6 separate regions of the Homo sapiens genome follow, and regions 1, 3, 4, 5 and 6 are each linked to region 2. The links are contacts of gene promoters, found by promoter capture Hi-C in blood cells and fetal thymus (Javierre and others, 2016). All regions are on one chromosome and are shown on one strand. Each heading gives the region's core, a stretch centred on a gene start or on the middle of the fragment in contact. The rest is flanking DNA. Distances are from core to core; before and after follow the strand shown.

Evidence for each region. The method cuts DNA at HindIII sites, captures the fragments that hold promoters and counts their contacts. A CHiCAGO score of 5 or more calls a contact.
Region 1: a contact is called between a fragment that was not itself captured here and the fragment with the promoter of LINC02694 in region 2, in 4 of 17 cell types (M0 macrophages, M2 macrophages, M1 macrophages and 1 more). The highest score is 10.8, in M0 macrophages.
Region 3: a contact is called between a fragment that was not itself captured here and the fragment with the promoter of LINC02694 in region 2, in 1 of 17 cell types (naive CD8 T cells). The highest score is 7.3, in naive CD8 T cells.
Region 4: a fragment that was not itself captured here is called in contact with the fragment with the promoter of LINC02694 in region 2 in 1 of 17 cell types (total CD8 T cells); the score reaches 5.7 in total CD8 T cells.
Region 5: a fragment that was not itself captured here is called in contact with the fragment with the promoter of LINC02694 in region 2 in 4 of 17 cell types (M2 macrophages, M0 macrophages, M1 macrophages and 1 more); the score reaches 11.6 in M2 macrophages.
Region 6: a fragment that was not itself captured here is called in contact with the fragment with the promoter of LINC02694 in region 2 in 1 of 17 cell types (fetal thymus); the score reaches 6.4 in fetal thymus.

The regions. Positions count from the first base shown.
Region 1 is chr15:38,002,061-38,005,250 of GRCh38, forward strand. It overlaps a transcript of TMCO5A not described here. Among named protein-coding and RNA genes, the nearest start is that of LINC02345, 37 kb to the right of the region's middle. The HindIII fragment of the contact is 312 bases long and covers 1,544-1,855 here.
Region 2 is chr15:38,694,838-38,698,001 of GRCh38, forward strand. LINC02694 (long intergenic non-protein coding RNA 2694) reads left to right here and starts at 1,761. Exons shown (of 2, transcript NR_160786.1): 1 at 1,761-1,902. RefSeq lists an enhancer at 1,871-1,920. The HindIII fragment of the contact is 8,690 bases long and covers 1-3,164 here.
Region 3 is chr15:39,603,730-39,607,213 of GRCh38, forward strand. The region is part of intron 11 of FSIP1 (fibrous sheath interacting protein 1); the gene reads right to left. Among named protein-coding and RNA genes, the nearest start is that of THBS1-IT1, 19 kb to the left of the region's middle. The HindIII fragment of the contact is 3,307 bases long and covers 522-3,484 here.
Region 4 is chr15:39,626,759-39,629,962 of GRCh38, forward strand. All of the region lies in intron 10 of FSIP1 (fibrous sheath interacting protein 1), which reads right to left. LOC105370785 (a long non-coding RNA gene) reads left to right here and starts at 1,670. Exons shown (of 3, transcript XR_932156.3): 1 at 1,670-1,758; 2 at 2,149-2,409. The HindIII fragment of the contact is 5,882 bases long and covers 1-3,204 here.
Region 5 is chr15:37,985,055-37,988,330 of GRCh38, forward strand. It overlaps a transcript of TMCO5A not described here. Among named protein-coding and RNA genes, the nearest start is that of TMCO5A, 52 kb to the left of the region's middle. The HindIII fragment of the contact is 4,251 bases long and covers 1-3,276 here.
Region 6 is chr15:39,427,350-39,430,900 of GRCh38, forward strand. No RefSeq gene overlaps it. Among named protein-coding and RNA genes, the nearest start is that of THBS1, 150 kb to the right of the region's middle. The HindIII fragment of the contact is 620 bases long and covers 1,125-1,744 here.

The sequences.
Region 1 (3,190 bases), core at 450-2,949, 690 kb before region 2:
TCAGACTGAGGAAGTGGATTTAGCATTTCTTGTAGGACAGGTCTAGTATTGATGAAATCCCTCAACTTTTGTTTGTCTGGGAAAGTCTTTATTTCTCCTTCATGTTTGAAGGATATTTTCACAGGGTATGCTACTTTAGGATAAAAGGTTTTTTTTTTTTCCTTCTGCATGTTACTTATTTCTTTTCTCTTGCTGCTTTCTTTATCATTGACCTTTGGGAGCTTGATTATTAAATGTCTTGAGGTAGTCTCATTTGGATTATATCTGCTTGGTGTTCTATCACCTTCTTGTACTTAAATATTGATATCTTTCCCTAGGTTTGGGAAGTTCTGTTATTTTCTCTTTAAATATACTTTCCACCCTGGTATCTCTCTCTCTCTTTCTCTCTCTCTCTTTCCTCTTTAAGGCCAATAACTTTTAGGTTTGCCCTTTTGAGACTATTTTCTAGATCTTGCATTTATGCTTCATTCTTTTTTATTCTTTTTTTTCTTTTGTCTTCTCTGGTTGTGTATTTTCAAATAGCCTGTCTTCAAGCTCACTAATTCTTCTGCTTGATCAAGTCTACTGTTAAGAGGCTCTGATGTGTTCTTTAGTATGTCAATTGTATTTTTCAGCTCCAGAATTTCTGCTTGATTCTTTTTTTAAAATTATTTCAATCTCTTCATTAATTTCATCTGATAGGATTCTGAATTCTCTCTCTGTGTTATCTCAAATTTTGTTGAGACTCCTCAAAACAGCTATTTTGAGTTCTCTGTCTGAAAGGTCACATATCTCTGTGTCTTTGGTACTGGTCACAGGTGCTTATTTCATTCATTTGGTGAAGCCATTTTCTGGGTAGTCTTGATGCTTGTAGATGTTTGTGGGTGTCTGGATGTTGAAGAGTTAGGTATTTATTATAGTCTTCTCAGTCTGAGCTTGTTTGTGCCCATCCTTCTTGGGAAGGCTTTCCGAGTCCCTTTTCAAAGAGATTTGGGCACTGTGATCTAAGTCTTTGGTCACTGCAGTTGCATGTGCATTAGGGGGCACCCTAAGCCCAGTGATGCTGTGGCTCTTGCAGGCTTGTAGAGGTACTTCCTTGATGTCTTGAGTGAGACCTGAGAGAATTATCTGGATTATCCAGCAGAGACCCTTGTTCTCTTCCCTGACTTTCTCCCAAACAGAGTCTCTCTCTCTCTCTCTCTCTCTCTGTCTCCTCCCATCACTCTCTCCCCACTTGAAGCTAGGGGAGGAGTGACAGAAGCACTCCTGTGGCTACCACAACTGGGATTGTGCTGGGTCAGACCCAAAGCCAGCACTGGGGTCTCACTCAAGGCCCGCAGTTACCACTGCTTGGCTATCACCTATGTTCATCAAGGCCTAAGGGCTCTGTAACCAGCAGGTGGTAAATCTAGCCAAGCTCATGTCCTTCCTTTCAATGCAGTGAGTTATCCTTGGCCCATGGTGGGTGTGGGTCCAGAGATGTCATCCAGGAGCCAGGACCTGGAGTCAAGAACCTTAGGGATCTACTTGGTGCTTTATTCTACTACTGCTGGGCTGGCACCCAAGCTTTAAGACAAAGTCCTTCTCACTCTTCCCTCCTCTTTTCTCAAGCAGATGAGTCTCTCCCCATGGTCACCACTGCCCCAGGCCCACAACAAACAGTACCTGGCTACCACCATGTTCACTCAAGGCCCAAGGACTCTTCAGTCAGCTTGTGGTGCATGTTACCAGGCCTGGGATTCTCTTTTCAGGGAAATAGGCTCCTCTGTGGCCCAGGAAGGATCGAGAAATGCTGTCCAGGAGCCAAGGCCTGGAATCAGGAACCCCAGGAGCCCACTTGGTGCTCTACACCGCTGAGTAGAGCTGGTGGTACCCAAGCTTCAAAACCAAGTCCCCTTACTCTTCTTACCTCTTCTTTCCTTAAGCAAAAGGAGTCTCTTTTTGTAAGGCCCACAGCTGGGAATGTGCTGGGTCACACATGAAGCCAGCATGGCTCTGAGTCTCACCCAAGGCCCAAGGTGAATACTGCTTGGTTGCTACTGCTGATTATTCAGGACCCAAGGGCTCCTTAATCAGTAGGTGATAAATTCTGCCAGGACTGAGTCCTTCCCTTCAAGACAGCGGGTTTCCTTCTAGCCCAGAGTGTGTCTAGAAATGTCATCTGTGAGCTAGGGCCTAGAAAAGAGGCCTCAGGACTCTGCCTGGTGCCCCATTCTACTATGGCTGAGTGGATATCCAAGTTCCAAGACAAAGTCCTCTTTACTCTTCCCTCTCTTCTCCTCAAGCAGAAGGAAGAAGTTTCTCCCTGTGCTGCCTGGGGTTGGAGGAGAGGTGACCTTCCCCTGGCCACCCCATCTGGTCATGTGTGCCCCAAGTCCACTGGCTCTGAGCCAAGCACCGCACTGAGATTTGCCCAGGAATTGCAGTGCTTGTGGCTTAGACTGCCTTTCAAGTTTATTTTGAACCCCACAGCAGTTTAGCCAACAGTGGTGCTGGTGAAGCTTGTTGGAACTCAGGTTCCAACAGCCAGGATAAGTGATTCTCCTCTGGCTAGGGCTGGCCTAAATGCTCCCTCCGTGGGTGCCAACTGAGTTCTGCCTTCTGTTGCTTTCCACTGTGATAGGACAACACTGAGGTCATATGTAAAATTGCACAGTTACTGCATTCACCCTCCCCAAAGTGCACAGATTCTCTCTGAGCCAAATGGGTTAAGGGAGAAGTGATGGAGGCGATTCGAAGCTGTCTTTCCTACCCTCTTCAGTACCTCTTCCAGTGATGTGAAGTTAAAACCAGGTATTGTGATTGTTCACCTCAGTTTTCAACTTCATGAAGGTGCTTTTCTTGTATTGCTTAATTTGTTGTTCCTCTGGGGGGGTGTATAATTGCTGGAGGCTTCTATTTGGCCGTCTTGCTCTCCCTTCTGTTGAAGAGTAAAAAGATTTGTCACTATTAGACAGAATTCTCATGTGACAATAATTGCTCAAACAGAAATAACAGCTATTAACAGAGTACAGGTCTGTTTCTTTACAATGGTTTCCATCACCCCTATTGCATTATGCCCAGTCTATTTTACTCATTTGTGCCACCAGTATGCCCTTGTAGGTCTTAATCAACCTTTATTCCTAAGGGCACCTAGAGAGAGGATCCTTAAAAGGGAAATGACAGTGCCAATTGTTTGGGGAGGTGCCAAAAGACAGATAACTTTTGGAAA
Region 2 (3,164 bases), core at 511-3,010:
CTCTGCATTCCTGGGCAGTGCATGATACTACAAACACTCTCAACCAATGAGCTCTCTCCTCAGTTGAGGATGTTCTGCAACGTGGGACTTTATTTTTGCTATTGATTTTGTGTACTCGAAATTATTAGCCTAAGTCCCCAGTAAAGAGATTGGGTCTATGACCTGGGCTAGTCTCAATGAAAAGGAAGAGGGAATTCACCCGTTTCCCAAAACTTGGGTGGTTGAGATGATGTAGGCAGTTTTGAGGTAGAGCAGAATTGGGGGGCGGGTGCGGGGAGTCAAGGATTCTTCCATTCCAGGTTGGGAATCTGCAATCCCTTTGATGTAATAGCATGCCAGATGTTTGAACTATGAAATTGTTTCTGGGGTTCAGACTGTAGAACCCACTGAGGCAGAAATGTGGGAACTTGGTAGGAAAACATAAAGATGACAGCATGTTGGATACTTCAAGAAGGTACAAGGTCCTTTCCACGGAAGTTTTGCTAAAAGTGGATCAGGAACAAGAGGTGAATTATGTAACTTTGCTTCAGAAGCCACATCTACCTGTAATCAGCCATCAGAGGCTGAGGAAGGTCAGATTATCTTGTGTCTTCCTTATCATCGCCATCACTATCAGCAGCAGCAGCAGCAGCAGCAGCAGCAGCAGCAGAGTTCTCTGTCACACTCTATTACTAAAGCTAAAGATTGCATGTGATTATAGATATTTATTATTCTGGTCATTGTCATGGTGATCTTTGCGGAAAGATATTAGAGGAAAACTCCCTCCTAGTCATATCTGGAGGCCAATGTCCTTAAACAGAAAACTGGGGTCATACCCTGTAAAACCTATCAGACCAAGTAATCCAGAGCTGGGATGGGGGCAGGATCTCTTTAGAGTAAGACTTGCCTTCCAAGCCACATAACTGTCATCTGGAGCTTGTCACTGCTGACAATTTTCCTCCTTGCTGCCAGCTTGCTCTGTATCACGCAGGGCTATCATCAGTAACTTAGCCCTAAGAGGGGTACAGGAAAGATTAAAAAAAGGAATGCTATATTTGTGGGGGAATCATTCTCTAAAAGTCTCCCTTGCCAGCAAATTTTAAGTGGTAGGAGCAGTGGTTGTCACCACAGCTGGCACTTTGGGTTTTGTGGTGTGAAGCAAAGGCTTTTTAACTGAGAGAGGACTGGTGCCCATTCCTGGTGGCAGCTCCTGCCACTGGAAGCCTGGTTGGCCAGAATGTGATGCTGTGATGGGGACTGCATCTGGATCCCAGCTGTCAGGACCTGGCTTCCAGATCTGAATTCTAGAGCAGAGGGAGGGAAGGCAGAACACCTACCAGCACACTAATGTTTCAAGTTTGGCCTAGAGCAAAGAGCCTGAGTTGCTGTTGGCCAAACGTTGGCCTGTGTTTGTCAGACTGGGCTGAAGACTTCCTCCCTGGTCTATCCTTCACCTCTTATGCCACAGTTTTGGGAAACACTGTGCTCAGCAAGCTGAACTGCTTCTTGGGTGTGCGACTAGGGTGCCAGCCAGGCCAGGGACGTCCAGGACTGGAAGAAATGCAGGGGCAGGACCACAGCACAGGCTGATCAGGAGGCTGCCCCACCAGGAGCTCTGCTGAAGGCTGCATCCTCTCTGCTGAGAGTCAACCACTGTGCTGACTCACCATCCTTGTGGTTGAGAACCCATCAGCAAATTGGTGGCTCTGATGAGCCCTGGAGCTGCAAAATATAGGCCGGGGTACCTCAGCCGGAAGGGACTTCAGTTAGTGACAGGTTTTCTGTTCTGATATGGAGCTACAAGGGGCCCAAGAGGACCTGGGCATTTCCCTCTCTAGTCCCCGGAGGAACCATGAAACCAGGCCAGGAAGCAAGGCTAAGGGCAGGAGCAGCATCTGTCTCCAGGCGTCTGTTTGGATGGCTGTAAGTCCCACCTTGCTCTGTTTTTTTCTGCTATGGCTGAACCTGGATCTAGCAGGGTTCTCAGTTTCTGCTATGGCTGAACCTGGATCTCAGTCCCCTGGTGAGCTTAGCTCCTGCCTCCCAGAGAACTGGAATGACCTTATTCAGACACCTCCAGCCTGTATAAGTCAGGGGCAAGGACTGGGGAGTCAAGAGGGTTAAGGGAGTGAGAGGTGAGAGTTACAATCTACATTGTATTTTATGTCAACAGCATCCCCTGGAGTACTGCAAAGCTCTAAGTCAGATATCCCAGTGGGGGGCATCACCCATCCTAGACTTTCTCCCCTGCCCCATGCCCCTTATACCAACATCAATTCAGCACATAGCACTGTACTTGGCCATTAAGATAGTAAATAAATGCCTGGTGAATAGTTTGATAGACAGAAAGATGCCCACTCCCCCAACCCAAAGATGTTTACATTCTCATTCCTAGAAACTGTAAATATGTTATCTTAATAGCAAACAGGATTTTGCAAGTGTGGTTAACATTAAGGATCTTGAGATAAAGAGATTATCCTGGATTATCCGAATGGGCCTAATCTAATCCTAAAAAGCAGACAGGCTTCCCTGGGTGCAGTCAGAGACAGAAATGCAGCTAGGGGAATTGGAGTCAAAGAGAGGGCCATGAGAGAAGGATTCCATGCCCTGTGGCTGGTTCTGAGAGGTAGGGACTCTATGTAAGGACAGAGCAAATGTCTTCTAGGAGTTCAGGGTGGCCCCAGTTAGCAACCAGCAAGGACCTCAGTCTTACAGTCCCACGGAACTGTCAAGACCAGAATGAGCAAAGATAGTGATGCACCCCCAGAGCTGCCACCAAGGAACGCTGTCCTGCCGAGACGTTGATTTTAGTCCTATGAGACCCATAGGACTTCTGGCCCATAGAACTAAATGATAGTGTGTGTTTTAAGCTGCTAAAGTTTTGGTAATTTATTATAGTAGCAACCGATAATAGAAATGGCTATAAAATGGAATGTATTTTGTAACTGAACATAATTTTCTTGCCTCTGGTGTCCCTAATTTCCTTGGTGGCTGGCAGTCATAGAGAAGTCCTTTTCCATGGTTAGCTGTGTGCCAGTGACGGGGAGGGCATCCTTACTCTGGTCTCAAGTGCTTCTTGGCACCCCTGGGTTTACTTTTTTGCTGATGTCCCCTGGCATAGGTGTTGCTAGAAGCTGGCGTTTTTAGGAAGCACGTAGAACTCTCTGCTCCTTCATAGTCAGTCA
Region 3 (3,484 bases), core at 925-3,424, 910 kb after region 2:
AAGAAGAAAAAAGCAGACATTCAGCAGATGGGAAAAAAGGTACTTTCTGTACATTATTTTCACTACCACCATTTATTTTTGATAATCCTAAAGTAGAAGTAAGTAGTAAACCATTTAGTCCGGAGCTTCTCACTCTGTAACATGCACACAAATCACCTGCGGGGTATCTTAAAATTCAGGCTCTGATTCAGTAGGTCTGCAGTGGGCCTGGCACTCTACATTTCTTTTTGTTGTTGTTGTTGCCCAGGCTGGAGTGCAATGTCATGATCTCAGTTCACCGCAACCTCCACCTCCCGAGTTCAAGCGATTCTCCTGCCTCAGCCTCCCAAGTAGCTGGGATTATAGGCATGCACCACCATACCCGGCTAATTTTGTATTTTTAGTACAGATGGGGTTTCTCCGTGTTGGTTAGGCTTGTCTCAAACTCCCAACCTCTGGTGATCTGCCCGCCTGGGCCTCCCAAAGTGCTGGGATTACAGGCGTGAGCCACAGTGCCCGGCTGAGACTCTACATTTCTAACAAGCTTCCAGTTGATGCTGACACCACTAGTCCATAGACCTAGTTTACAGTCACAATAGCGGATCTTCAGTAACTTTTTACTTTACCCAATTTGAATGAAGCAACAGAACCAGAAGTTTCCAATAACTGATAAAGTGATAAGGACATTACAATTAAATATCAAAACTCTCAAGCATGCCTTTGTTCATTTTATACTGCTAAAATGATAGAGAAAATGATCAACAGCAAATATTTATATGAAAAGTCTACCTCAAGAAGAATTAAAGAAAATTAGTTGAAAGTAAATTGAAGATGTAAATTAACCAAATATAAACTTACTATACACTAAGGTTTTATATTAAAAAATGAATTCACATTAGAAATTTCTAATATGGCATCTCTGATATTTTGACCAAATAAACTCTGGAAGAGCATTGGTTTGACTAGACAAAGGGAGGTTAAGTCACTAAGGGCATTGAAGAAGCAACGTGTAGCCTTGGAAAAGTAATTTAACAAATAGTAACTATGAGGTCTGAAGGCACACCCTGTTTGAGACAAACAGAAAACTATTAAGGCAATGATGAGTTAAGGACTTCCCTAAGAGCAATCCAAAATATTTTTAATGGAAAAGATCAGCTAATAGGGTCACTGTTTCTAGAATCTCACCGCTCTCCTGCAAACCAGTAAGACTATACTATAACAAAGAAAATTTTCTCAAACAATCTAGTTCCCTTGAAACTGTTCAGGTGGTATGACTAAGGACATATACCAACACACACCCACTTCAAACCACTGCAACACCCTTACCAAAAGTCAATCTGCCGGCAACCAGGCCTCATCCAGCAAGTTACAATCAATGGGCAAAATTTCAGCCTCAAGTATATTCAGATTATATAGTCGTCATTATTAGTAGAACTTTTTTTTTATCTGAGGATCCCAATAAGATAACATACTTAGCTTTCTTTCATCTAAACTGAAATCTATAGTTCTCAAGTGTTCACAGTGAAATCCTGTCCCTAGCATTAATTTAGCAGCCTGGACATTCCATCCCAGGAACTCTGATTTCAGCAAGTCTGGATAGGTCCTTGGACACAGCTAGAAAACAAACAAGCAAAAAACTCCCCAGATGATCTTGATACTCACTGTGGTTAGGAATAATGCTCTGCAGTTTGTAACAGGGCTTCTCAAACTTTATTGCCGGGAAGTATCACCAGGGATCTTATTAAAATGAAAATTCTCATGCCTTAGGTTGTGGGTGGGCCCTTAGGGGCCCTGCATCTCTAACAAGCTCCCAGTGGTTGGATTGCACTACAAGCAGAGGAGACTTACAACATGGAATGGAAATTCAATGTCTCCAAAGGACCAAGCCCATGAAGTAGAGAGGGCTAGGTGGGGGCTGTGTCCTCTTGGAGAATACACATGCCTTCTAAGGGGAGCATCTGCTACTCAGCTCCCGTGGGTGGTGGTAGAACTTGCTGATTTGTCAGAAATGTCAGAAATCTAGCCTTTTATGGAAAAATCTCCTGACAATGTTCAATGTTAAACGCCATGTAAGCCAACCAAGTCCAGTCCCAGAGCTAATCATTTTATTTGAATGTTCTCATTTGATCCTCATTACAACCCTACAGGGTATTAAGCCATCTTATATGATAGACAAGGAAACCAAGGTGTAGAGGAGAGAGAGAGAAATTAACTAACTTACCTAAGATCTCCATCTAGCAGCAGAGCAAGGATTCAAACCCAGGTCTTCCCTACCCAGAACCCATGTTCCTAACCACTAGGCCACTTCCCACTGGTGGGTGGTAGGCCACCCTCCCTCTGCTAATCTAGGTTCTAGCTTGGGATTCTGCTACTTACTTGGACTCCCTTAATTTGGTCCTTTGAGTAACTAATCTGCTCTTTGGTTTTATGTTCACAGTTTCAATTTAGAGTGACCAACCATTCCAGTTTGCTAGAGACTGAGGATTTCCTGGAACATGGAACATTCAATGGTAAAACCAGGACACTTCTGAGCAATCCAAGACAGTTGGCCACTATAGTTTTCATTTAGGGGTATTATTTTAAAAAGAAAACAAAACTTACATGACTCTTGTTGCATTTACTATAGGCTTTTAAACTGACACACAATTGTACATATCTATGGGATACACAGTGATATTTTAATACATACAATGTCTAGTGGTCAAATCAGGTAAATTGCATACCCATCACCTCATTTATCAATTCTCTGTGTTAAGAACATTCAAAACCTTCTCTTCTAGCTATCTGAAAATATATATTATTGTTGACTATAGTCACCCTACAGTGCTATAGACTATTAGAACTTATTCCTCCTATAAAGCTATAATTTTGTATCCTTTAACCAATAACTCCCTATCCCTTCCTCCCTGCTAACTTATACAATTTTTCAAGAATACTGTTCACTCAACAGGTCCAACGAGAAATTCCACTTTGTTTTTCTTAAAGAATTAGTGCAGTTCTGTCCCCATTTTTTACTGCACAACTGATTTTGTGTCCGTTTTTGCCCTATTTTACTATGTTTGTTATTTGCTAATACCATGTTCATCTTTATTTTATGAATTTCTGTTAATAATTAGCTCAAATGCTTAGTAGGAAGGGAGAATACTATACAAGCATAGGTGGCTTTTGCTTTGATTACCTAGAAAGCAACTCAGTATTAGATAATTTGATTAAATACTAGACTAACTCACAGACCTGATCCTTTTTGCTTCGGAAGTGCCAGTACATTCAGGATTGTCTCTGAGGTTAAGTGTGACCTGACAACACTTAATCCCCACTCTCCTCATGCTCCCACAAGGAGGAACTTGCAGTGGAAGCATCCTGGCCTCACTTCACACCCTCCACACTGTCCGTGGGAAGCTAAGTTTGGGAGATGAAATGGCATGCTCAGCTCAGCCCCTGCCTCCTCAGGAGTCAGCACCCAGCTCCCACCTGACCCTGCTCCCCAAGGCTCCATGCTTCGCTC
Region 4 (3,204 bases), core at 185-2,684, 930 kb after region 2:
CTGGGAGTCAATTAAACCTCTTTTCTTTATAAATTACGTAGTATTTTTACAGCAGTGTGAAAATGGATGAATACAGTTAGACAAGGCTTCAGGTACCAGGACTTCTGCTTTCCAGAGACATGAGCCCTTAATACTTGATCAGTGCCACGATCACCAGCAGCTCCTCTGCCTCTTATTGTGAGAAGCATCTCACTAGTGTAGCACTATCTGGACCCTTCCCCCCTCACCCCAATCACAGAGAACACTCAGCTAGGCCCCACCCATATAAGAGAGACCCCTCAAAAAGATGCTCAACCCTGGGAACTGGAAAAGAAAACTGAGTATTTCCTTACATGCCCAAGAAGTTTCCCAGCAGCATACACAAGTCAAACGGCCAGGCTGCACTGACATTACACTGCTCAACGTGACTGGATTCAGATTACCCATCATCCAGACCTGTGCACTTGCCTGCTGCCGGGCTGAGCACTTGCCTGCTGCCAGGCTGAGCAGATCTAACATGGCCTGTGCTGCTCTCACAGGTGTAGACCTGGATGTCACTTCTGATGCCACTGCCATGGCCCCTCAAGTCACCCATGGGTACAGCAAGCCCCTCTTGGCTCCTTCCCAGGATTTCTTGTCTATTGCTGATGAGGTGTGAGTTGCTAATAAGGTGTGGGATGATCAGCTGGCCACTTCTAGGCTTGTACAAACCAGAAGTGCAAGAGAATTCATGCCCCTTGGGGCAGACTTTGACCAAGGGGAGAGGGAAGGCAGTGAAGGAGTTACTTTCCCCCAGAAAGACTCCCTGAAGTGCAGTCACCCACATGGCAGCTCTCTGCATATGTCCCACAAGTCACCCACATGGTATCTCTCTGCATATGTCCCACAAGTCACCCACATGGCATCTCTCTGCATGTGTCCCACAAGTCACCCACATGGCATCTCTCTGCATATGTCCCACAAGATCAATCAGCTGTACTTGCTAGCAAGCAGTAGTCAGGTCAATGATACAGCTCTTATATTTACTCTCTTTCTTTGCTTCACTTCTCTTGTTCCCCACTTCTGTTTCTCTGGTGATGCTTTCACTAATGAAGCAGCAGCAATATACTTTTGCCTCAGGCCCCACTGCTCCACACTAAGACACAATAAGCAACAGCTTCCAAGTCAGGGCTGGGCAGGGCTCTGAAGGGCAACTCGAACCAAACCAAACAGCGTGGGCCTGGAAGCACAGGGTTAGCAGCTCCAACCAGCCTCTGCAGACTGTCAACAAGGCTCACATGCTGGCACTGGCTGGGTGCAGGTACTGCAGGGTTATGGCCAACACTGTCAACGCCATAGGAGATAGGAGGCAAAGTGATGCTTCAGGATCCTTGGGGCTCATGGATTAATAGGTGGTTTCTACTGGCATATCTGGGACGAGAGCAGCAGAGTACTGTCCAAGAAGGCAAGAGTCAAAGGAGAAAATCCTTTGGAGGCCTAGGATTTACCTAGGGCAGCCAGAGGCAGCACCACTAGAGGGAGAATATGAATTGGAGCCAGGGAGAGAAAGCCAAGGTCACAGCTTAGGTTGGAGTGTCGAGATAAACAGAAAGAATGACAAGCATGAGGTATAAAAGAGGTCACGGCATGTTGTTCAGTGCCAATGCATGTCCACTGCGAAGACGTAGGAGGCCTGCTTTCATTCTGGATGGGCAGAGTGTAAGACCAGGCCAGGGGGCTAAAAGGAGTGAGGCAGGAGAAGACCCTAAAAGCCACTGAGGAATCAAAATGAGGTGCGAGGTGAGCCATGCACATGTGTGACATTCCTTCACATCTTAGACGCATCTCCAGCACCCTATCTTTAAGTTATTTCCTCGTGGCATTTTATACTCCATTTGGGAAAGCCTCTCAAGTTAAGTGTTCCTTCAGCTTGCAAACTCTCTCTCTGAAAGCAATAGAAAGCCCCAGAGGGAGAGGAAATACCCTTACCAACAGCAGAAGTTAGCAGGGGGAGGCTGACATTTCTAACTTTAGATTCCGGCTCTCTCATTCCCCAGCTGTTTGGTATTGGGCAAATCACTTAACCTTTCAAAGTCTCAGATTTCTAGTCAGTAGAGTAAAAATACTAACAACTAGCTGACTCCAAACAACTAGTTGGGAGGAATACTAACAAGCAACAATTTGCAATAGCATGAAATACCTGCGTGAAGCTGCGAGGACCATGCCTGATGCAGACGAGGCAGGAGCTCAATCAATGCTGGAACATCAATAGCAAATCTCAGCTTCCGTCTGGAAGCTGGCAGCAGCAGCAGCAGCCAGATGGCCTCTCTTGGAAGCTGTACACTGAAGCCTGTACTTTCCAAGTTCAACTGGCCCCTACTTTTGAAGATCTCTCTTGGATACCAGGAATGGAGCTTTATGGACGATCTCACAACTAGCAATTCACAATGAGTAAGCTGTCATGTGTACTCTTGTAGATTCCTGGCGCTGGGGAGGGGGTGCTACAGAGGCCATGAGATGCTGGGAGAGGGCACCCAAGAGGTAAAGATTGGCATGTGATTCTCTATCATCTATCATCGCCCTCGGAAGGTTTACACTTCAAGGCTGACACTATTAAGTCTTCAGCATCAGAAAGTACTGTATGCAGTAACCACAAAGTAACCAGAAAGGGGCTGGCTTCTAGATACTTTTACATTTGGTTAAAATAATCCCAGTCAGGGCACCAGGTGAGTCTCTTCAAGCGCAGGGCTGAAGCTAAGCCAGGTTCATCCCATGTTCCACGCACAGGGGCACGTGCCCCATTAGTCAGTTTTTCTCTTACTCCTCAGGCTGCCCCTCAGCCCTCTCTGCCTGCGCACACCCTCCTCAGGAAGCAAACTCTATTTCAAATGTTTACTCATTTCCTGTTGCCCTCACATCAAATCCTGAGGTGTGCTTCCTCACTACTGTCCCTGAGTCTAAGCAATCTAGGTCAATGTACAACTCTCTCAAGGAACAAACTCACATTTTATAGGAGCCTCGTTGAATCAGAATGACTTAACCTGAAGAGGTGATTCTAAGAATAGAATCCAAGCCCCATAGCTGGATGATAGAAAGATATTTGAAAGATATCACTTTGAGCACCCTCAAATCAGGCCACACTGGGCAAAGTTAGGCCTAGTCTGGTTCGACAAATGGTCAGTCCTGACAAATTTCATCAGATCTGATTTTCCTCTTGGGTATAAATCTAGTGCCATACAGTTAACT
Region 5 (3,276 bases), core at 10-2,509, 710 kb before region 2:
AAAAAAAAAAAACAACAGAACAGAACATAGAATGGGGGATGGAGCAAGGCAATCTTAGAATCAAAGAGTGGGTGGCTTCTTCTGACATCTAGATTATAGAAGATTCTTCAACAGTGTTGTCTTCTTTCCTCTTCATTCTCTCAAAGAAGTCAATAAAAGCTCCCTCTCACTTTCCCACCACACAAGAGGCAAACCATGTGGAAGGTTATAGAATTCCACCAGATTTTAATTGTGAGGTTGTAGGGTAGGTAGGTGTTAATTTTTCTCCTAAAATTAGAATGATTTTCCCTGGGTTGTTTTATTGGATTCCATGCTCTGCTGTAAGAATATTTTAATGCAAATGAACTAAAATTGTATAATTTTTTGCTGTCATCTTTCATCCAAAGCACATAAAATTCCTAAGTTTCACTCAAATTTCTAGCAGTACATTGTAAATTTCTTAAAGTACTGTGGATAGCTATAGAAAATGTTGTACTTAACTATGCTAAGAAAATATTTTTTAAACAAAATTTTCTGTTTATTCTATTTTTAGAAAATAATCAGTTAAATTGACTTTCTCACCTCTAGACACTTCTCAGAGAACCATGAAAACAAATTCAAGGCAGAATAGTGACCTTCTTTGAGTCCCTTTAATTCATTATCTGCATCTGCATCTCCATTCTGATGCAAGTAGATGGACGTTTTGCCTTGGTCATTCCTGTTAATTGAAAACACTCTGTTATCTTTTCTAAAATCAAGTTATGTTCTTGAGAGTGTATTTATTTTAAAAGATTCTGAAACTCAATTTCTCACTAATTCATATTAGCTTTTCTTTCATATCAGCTTTTTTTTTAAAATTAACTTGTACTCTATTCTCTGTGGAGTTAATATCTTGGTTGGAACCTTTCCACTCAAGAAATAAATGGTCCAGTGAAGGAAGTAATGTGCCATTATCATCCTTATGCTTTGAAAATCTGTAGAATTTTGGAACTAGAAAAAAACAACTGAGACAATTGAGTTCTAGAGAAGTTGGGTTACACAGATAACTAGTACTAGAAGGCAGAACACACAGAATCATAGAAACTTGGGTTTATAAGAGATTTTGAAGGGCAGTTAGTTCAATCTCTCAAATATATTTTTAAAGAGAGGCTTGCACATAGTGAACATTCAACAAATAGAAATTAAATGAATGTAGAAATGTACATACTGACCAGCCTAGTGATTACTCAGCTTCTGCTTAGAAGCCATAAAGAAAAACCCCAATAAAAGTATTTTCAAATTTGAAATATAACTGAATAAAACTCTTTCTGATGGAAGCGAAAAAAGAGCCAAGGGGGGTAAGGGATGGTGTGTGTGTGTGTGTGTGTGTGTGTGTGTGTGTGTGTGTGTGTTTAAATCAAGCATTTTTATTGTGGTAAAAAATACATACGAAATTTTTCATCTTAATAATTTTTAAGTGTACAGTTCAGCAGCATTAAGTACATTCACACTTTTGTGTAACCATCACTGCCATCCATCTCCAGAGGTCTTTTTATCTTGCAAAACTGATACTCTGTACCCATTAAACAATATCTCCCCATTTCTCTTTCTCCCAGTCCCTGAAAAACACCAATTTACTTTCTATGAATTTGACTACTTTAGGTACCTCATATAAATGGAATTACACAGTATTGGTCTTTTCATGACTGGTTTATTTCACTTTATATGTCTTCAAGTTTCATCCATGTTGCAGCATACAAGATTCCCTTTCTTTTTAAGACTGAATAATTCATCTGTTAATGGACACTTATGTTGCTTCCACATTTTAGCTATGGTGAATAATGCTGCTATGAACATCGGGGTACAGATATCTCTTCAAGATTTTCCTTTCAATTCTGGCTGTATATCCAGAAGGAGAATTGTTGAAACACATGATAATTCTATTTTGAATTTTTTAAGGAACCACCATACTGTTTTCCATACAGTAGCTGCCCCACTTTACATTTTGACCAATAGTGCACAAAAGTTCCAATATCTCCACACCTTCATCAACATACATTTTTTGTATTTTTGATAGTAGTCATCCTAATGTGTGTAAGGTGATATCTCACCATGTTTTTTATTTTCACTTTTCTAATAATTAGTGATGTTGAGCATCCTTTCATGTGCTTACTGACCATTTGTTTATATCGTCTTTGAAGCAATGTCTATTCAAGTCATTCACCTATTTTTAATTAAGTTGTTATTATTGAGTTATCTCTATATTCTGTATATTAATCCCTTATCAGACATATACTTTGCAAATATTTTCTCTCATTTTGTGGGTTGCCTTTTTACTCTGTCAATTAAGTCTTTTGAGGCCAAAAGTTTTTAATTTTTATGAAGATCAATTTGTTGTTGTTTTTGTTTTGTTGCTTAGGCCTTTGGTGCTATATCTAAAAAATTGCCAAATCTAGTGTTATAAAGACTTTGTCCTGTGTCATATTTTATGTTTAGGCTTTTGATCCATTTTGAGTTAATTTTTGCATACGATGTTATGTAAAGGTCAAAATTGATTCTTTTGCAATGTGGTCATACAGTTTACCCAGGACTGTATGGTGAAAATACTAACCTTTCCCCCAGTGAATTGTCTTGGCACACTTATCAAAACTCATTTGACTATATATGTGAGGATTTATTTTTGGGCTCTCTATTCTGTTCCATTGGCCAATGTGTCTGTCTTTATGCCAGCACCACTCTGGTTTGATGACTGTGGCTTTTTAGTAAGTTTTGAAATCAGGAAGTATAAGCCTCCCATCTTCTTTTTAAATATTATTTTAGCTATTTATCGTCTCTTAAGATTCCATGTAAATTTTAGGATAAACTTTTCTATTTCTGCCCAAAAAAAAGTCATTGGGATTTTGATAGGCATTGCACTGAATTTGTATACCACTTTGGGTAACATTGACATCTTAGCAATTTTAAGTCTCCCAATCCATGAATGTAAAATGTCTTTCTATTTATTTATTCTTTAATTTATTTCAGCAATGTTTCATAATTTTCTTTGTTTCTCTTTTACTTTCTAGGTTAATACTTAAGCATTTTATAATTTTTGAAGCTATTGTAAATGAAATTTTATTAATTTCCTCTTCAGATTGTTTATTGTTAGTGTGTAGAAATGCAAGTGATTTTTGTTTATTTTTGTTTCCTGCTACTTTGCTGAATTCATTTATTATTTTAACAATTTTATTAGGTGAAATCTTTAGAGTTTTCCATGTATAAAATCATGCCATCTGTAAACAGAGATACTTTTACTTTTTCCTTTCCAATTTAAATGCC
Region 6 (3,551 bases), core at 185-2,684, 730 kb after region 2:
AAACCCCTAGCTGTGTTTCCGCAACTAGCAACACCCGCTGCATTTGTCATCACAGCTGCACACGTGCCGCCGCCTTTGACAAAGACATGGTATCTGTAGCATACTTTCTGGGAAATGCTGTCTGAAGGTGCTGCATCACTGACACTTGCCGTCCAACTTGAATTGTGTAAGAAGTATTAGGCATTTTAGAAGCTCATGCAGAGACTCTGGGCTTTCTCATAAGCTAACACAAGCAGAAAAATCTACCTGCTCAGGCTCTTTTCTAAGCCAAGGATGCCAGAATTCCAACCAATTTCTGCTTTGGCCAAAGAGTATCTCAATTGCATGCTGACAAGAGCTTCAGCACAGCTACCCATCTTCATTTTCAAAACGTAGGTGCATCTAGCTCAGAAGGATAGGGTCCTGGAGACCCAGGAGAGAAAAGACAGATCCTCTGAATGTCAGAATAGGACCTTTTTCCCTGTCCTTGTGCTGTCAGCCTGACTCTCTGAGCCACAGCTCCAAGAACAGCCCTGGGGTTATAGAGGTGCAGGGCTTCTAGATAAGAAGCCAGAACAGACAGTCCCCTCTGTGTCATTTGTCGTTACACAATATCCTAACCTCACGCCTCTAGGGGGGCAGCCCAGCAAAGCCAGCAATAGCCAGAGACTGCTGGCTCTTTCTGAGCCACTCATGGTTTCAAGGTGTCCCAGATTTTAAGAGGCTGAATTTTCTTTATGCTTCCTGAGTGCTTCTATCTCTCCACTTTAACATTGACATATGCATGTATTGCAGTAATATTATTTATTCAAATCTACCATGTTCTGGGCACTGGAACAGTGCCTGGAACTGTTGCTGGAACTGTTACAGTGCCTGGAACTTCTTAGAGTATTATGTATTCAAAGTAATATCATTTATTCAACAAACAATATTATATAACTCCTTCTAGGGCTTACATTCTAATGGGGGAGCACACGATAAACAAATAATAAATGACAGTAAAATAAAACAAATAATCACATATGAAGAGGTCCTCTGTGCAGGATGTGAGGACCAACGTTTGAGCACTGGCTCTGACATAGAGTATGTGGAACCCTTATTCGCTCATGCAATCCCCAGGGAAATCCTCTTAGGAGGTACTATTAAGCTTCACTTGACAAATAGGAAAACTGAAGTCCAGACTACACAGCCTAAAAATAGTAGAACACAAATTTGAACCTGGGTCTGATGCCCAAGATCCATTATCATTCCACTTCACCATCTCTCCCCCTGAAGCAAGGTCAAGAGACAAGGAGAAGGAAGGCCAGGACTTTGAGCCTTTCCACCTCATGCAAGAGTGTCCTCTGAGCCTCCACTGCTCAACTCAAGCACGTGTTTTTAAACATTCCAAAGCACTCCCAGTTGCAAAGGAGATGTTGTAGGATGTTAGGTCTCAGCACAAGGAACCCAAACCTTCAGGGGCTCTCCTCTACATTATGCTCCCATTTTTCTCCCAAAATATCGATCTCCACCCACCCTAGACATAGAACTGGAGAATAAGTTCCAGTTTCATCCCTTTGCAGATCTTAGGGGGACCCATCAAATTCCCAGCCACTGGGTGAAAATCAGCAGCTTCTTTATAGGACCTGAGTTGCCTTCCTAGAGGATCCTAGAGGAAAAAAAAAAATCTTATCCTTCAAATACTGCTGTCTTCCAAAATACGTAAGGACGCCACGGTGAATCATAGTGGACACCCTGCATTGGTTGGGTTATTATTTATCCTAGAAGCTTGGGTTCTTGGAGCCCTAGCTTATTTAAGCAACAAAGTCCCTCACAGCCCACAGGTGAGGAAGTGAGTGTAACAAAGAGATCATTGGACCTAAAATCAAAACACCTGTCAAATCCCGGTTCTGCCACTTACTAGTTATGATCTTGAGCCAGAGACTTAATTTCTTTGAGCCTCAGATTCCTTTCTGTAAAATAAACAGTTGTGTGACTTACCTTACAAGGATCATTGTAAAAGGAAAGAAGACCTATGTAAGATTCTGTGTTGAAAGAGCTCAGTACATAATCATGTATTTTAAAAATTAGATGTGGCTTTAATTTTTAAATTTTTCTCATTAAATTTGACAGCAAATTATGTTACTTGGCTATGAATTTAAACCTTGCTTACGTCTCTTATTTCTGGGAAAAAACAAAAAACACCTGCAAGGTTATCCCACTGCTGATTCCTGAGGGGAGGTCCCTCAAGGGCACATAAGGTGACAACTCCTCCAGCATGGACAACAGCCACCCAGAGATGCCAGGGAAGAATAGAGGGAACTCTCTTCTTTTTCCAACTTTCCACGTAATTTGTAATTGTTGTTTAAACTCTCAATCCTCCTGGTGATATGATAGGCTCAACTTTCCAAGATACTGAAGTTGAAAGAGTTTAAAAAAAAAAAAAAAAAAGGTATAACCAGGAAAGTTAGCTTTAATAATCTCCATTCCAGACATTTTAACCCACTTGAAAGGGGTAATACTTACCCCCCAAAACCTAAAGGGTGACTGTTTTGAGCATGAGGTGTGGGGAATAGAGATTAGCGTGAGAGGGAGGAAAGTGTTAAAATAGAAAGAGGCAGAGAGGAAATGAAATAACCTTCCTACCTCTTATCCTTGAGTGCTTTCAAGAGCCTGTCTGGGGCCAGGAGCCCCAGGAAACACCAAGGCTGTTTCTTGCCTTCACCTTTGGGCTGTTTTTTACTGCCATTCATTAAGAAAATCTTTTCCATCAGCCTTATCATCCTTTTCTTGGCTCTTGGTCAGGTTGAGTCAGACGTGGAACATTTACTTTCACAAAGACTAACCAATCTTTTGTCTAGACGCAGATGTCTTCCACCAAAGCTTGTTGATCAGGGTCATGAAAGAGGCTGGTAAACACGTAGGCCCTTTTGTGTAACTGAACACTGTGGGGGGAAGACTGAGGACAGAGGAAATGGAGAAAATGGGGGGAGCTAGGAATTTGTTGATAGCATATAAAAGTGGGCAACTGAAAGCACTGTGAACTCTCTTTGTTTGAAAAGTGTAAGGGGACTAGTTTGTAGTATCCCTAAAAAGGTTTGCAGATCAAGAGTGGAACTGGGTTTCAAAGGCCCCAGGGCCTTTTCTTGTCCTGTTGCCTCTGCCTGGACCATTTTCTGTCCTTCCTCTCTACTTCCTCTTCCCGGGCCAACTTTTATTCCCTCTCCCAGTCTTTTGCTAACAGCCACTTCCTCAGGAAAGCTTTCCCCAGCCCCTGCGGCTAGGGCAGGTTGCCCCATTACCCACTCTCATCACACCCTGCACTTTGCCAGTGCAGCTGTCTTCAGTACTATAATTAAATGATGATGTGTGCACAGCTATTTGGACAATGACTACCCATATTCATTAGTCGTTGGGCATTTTGTAAATTATCTTATAATTGAGCTAATTGTAATCTTTAAGCAGTAATATTACACAACAAAAACGTGTATAATTATTATTAAACTAATAATGTTGTCTCTCTGGCTAGATATTAACCTCCTTGAGGGCAGGGACTGCTTGGACCTGTATGTAATGGGGTGCCCAGTGCCTGA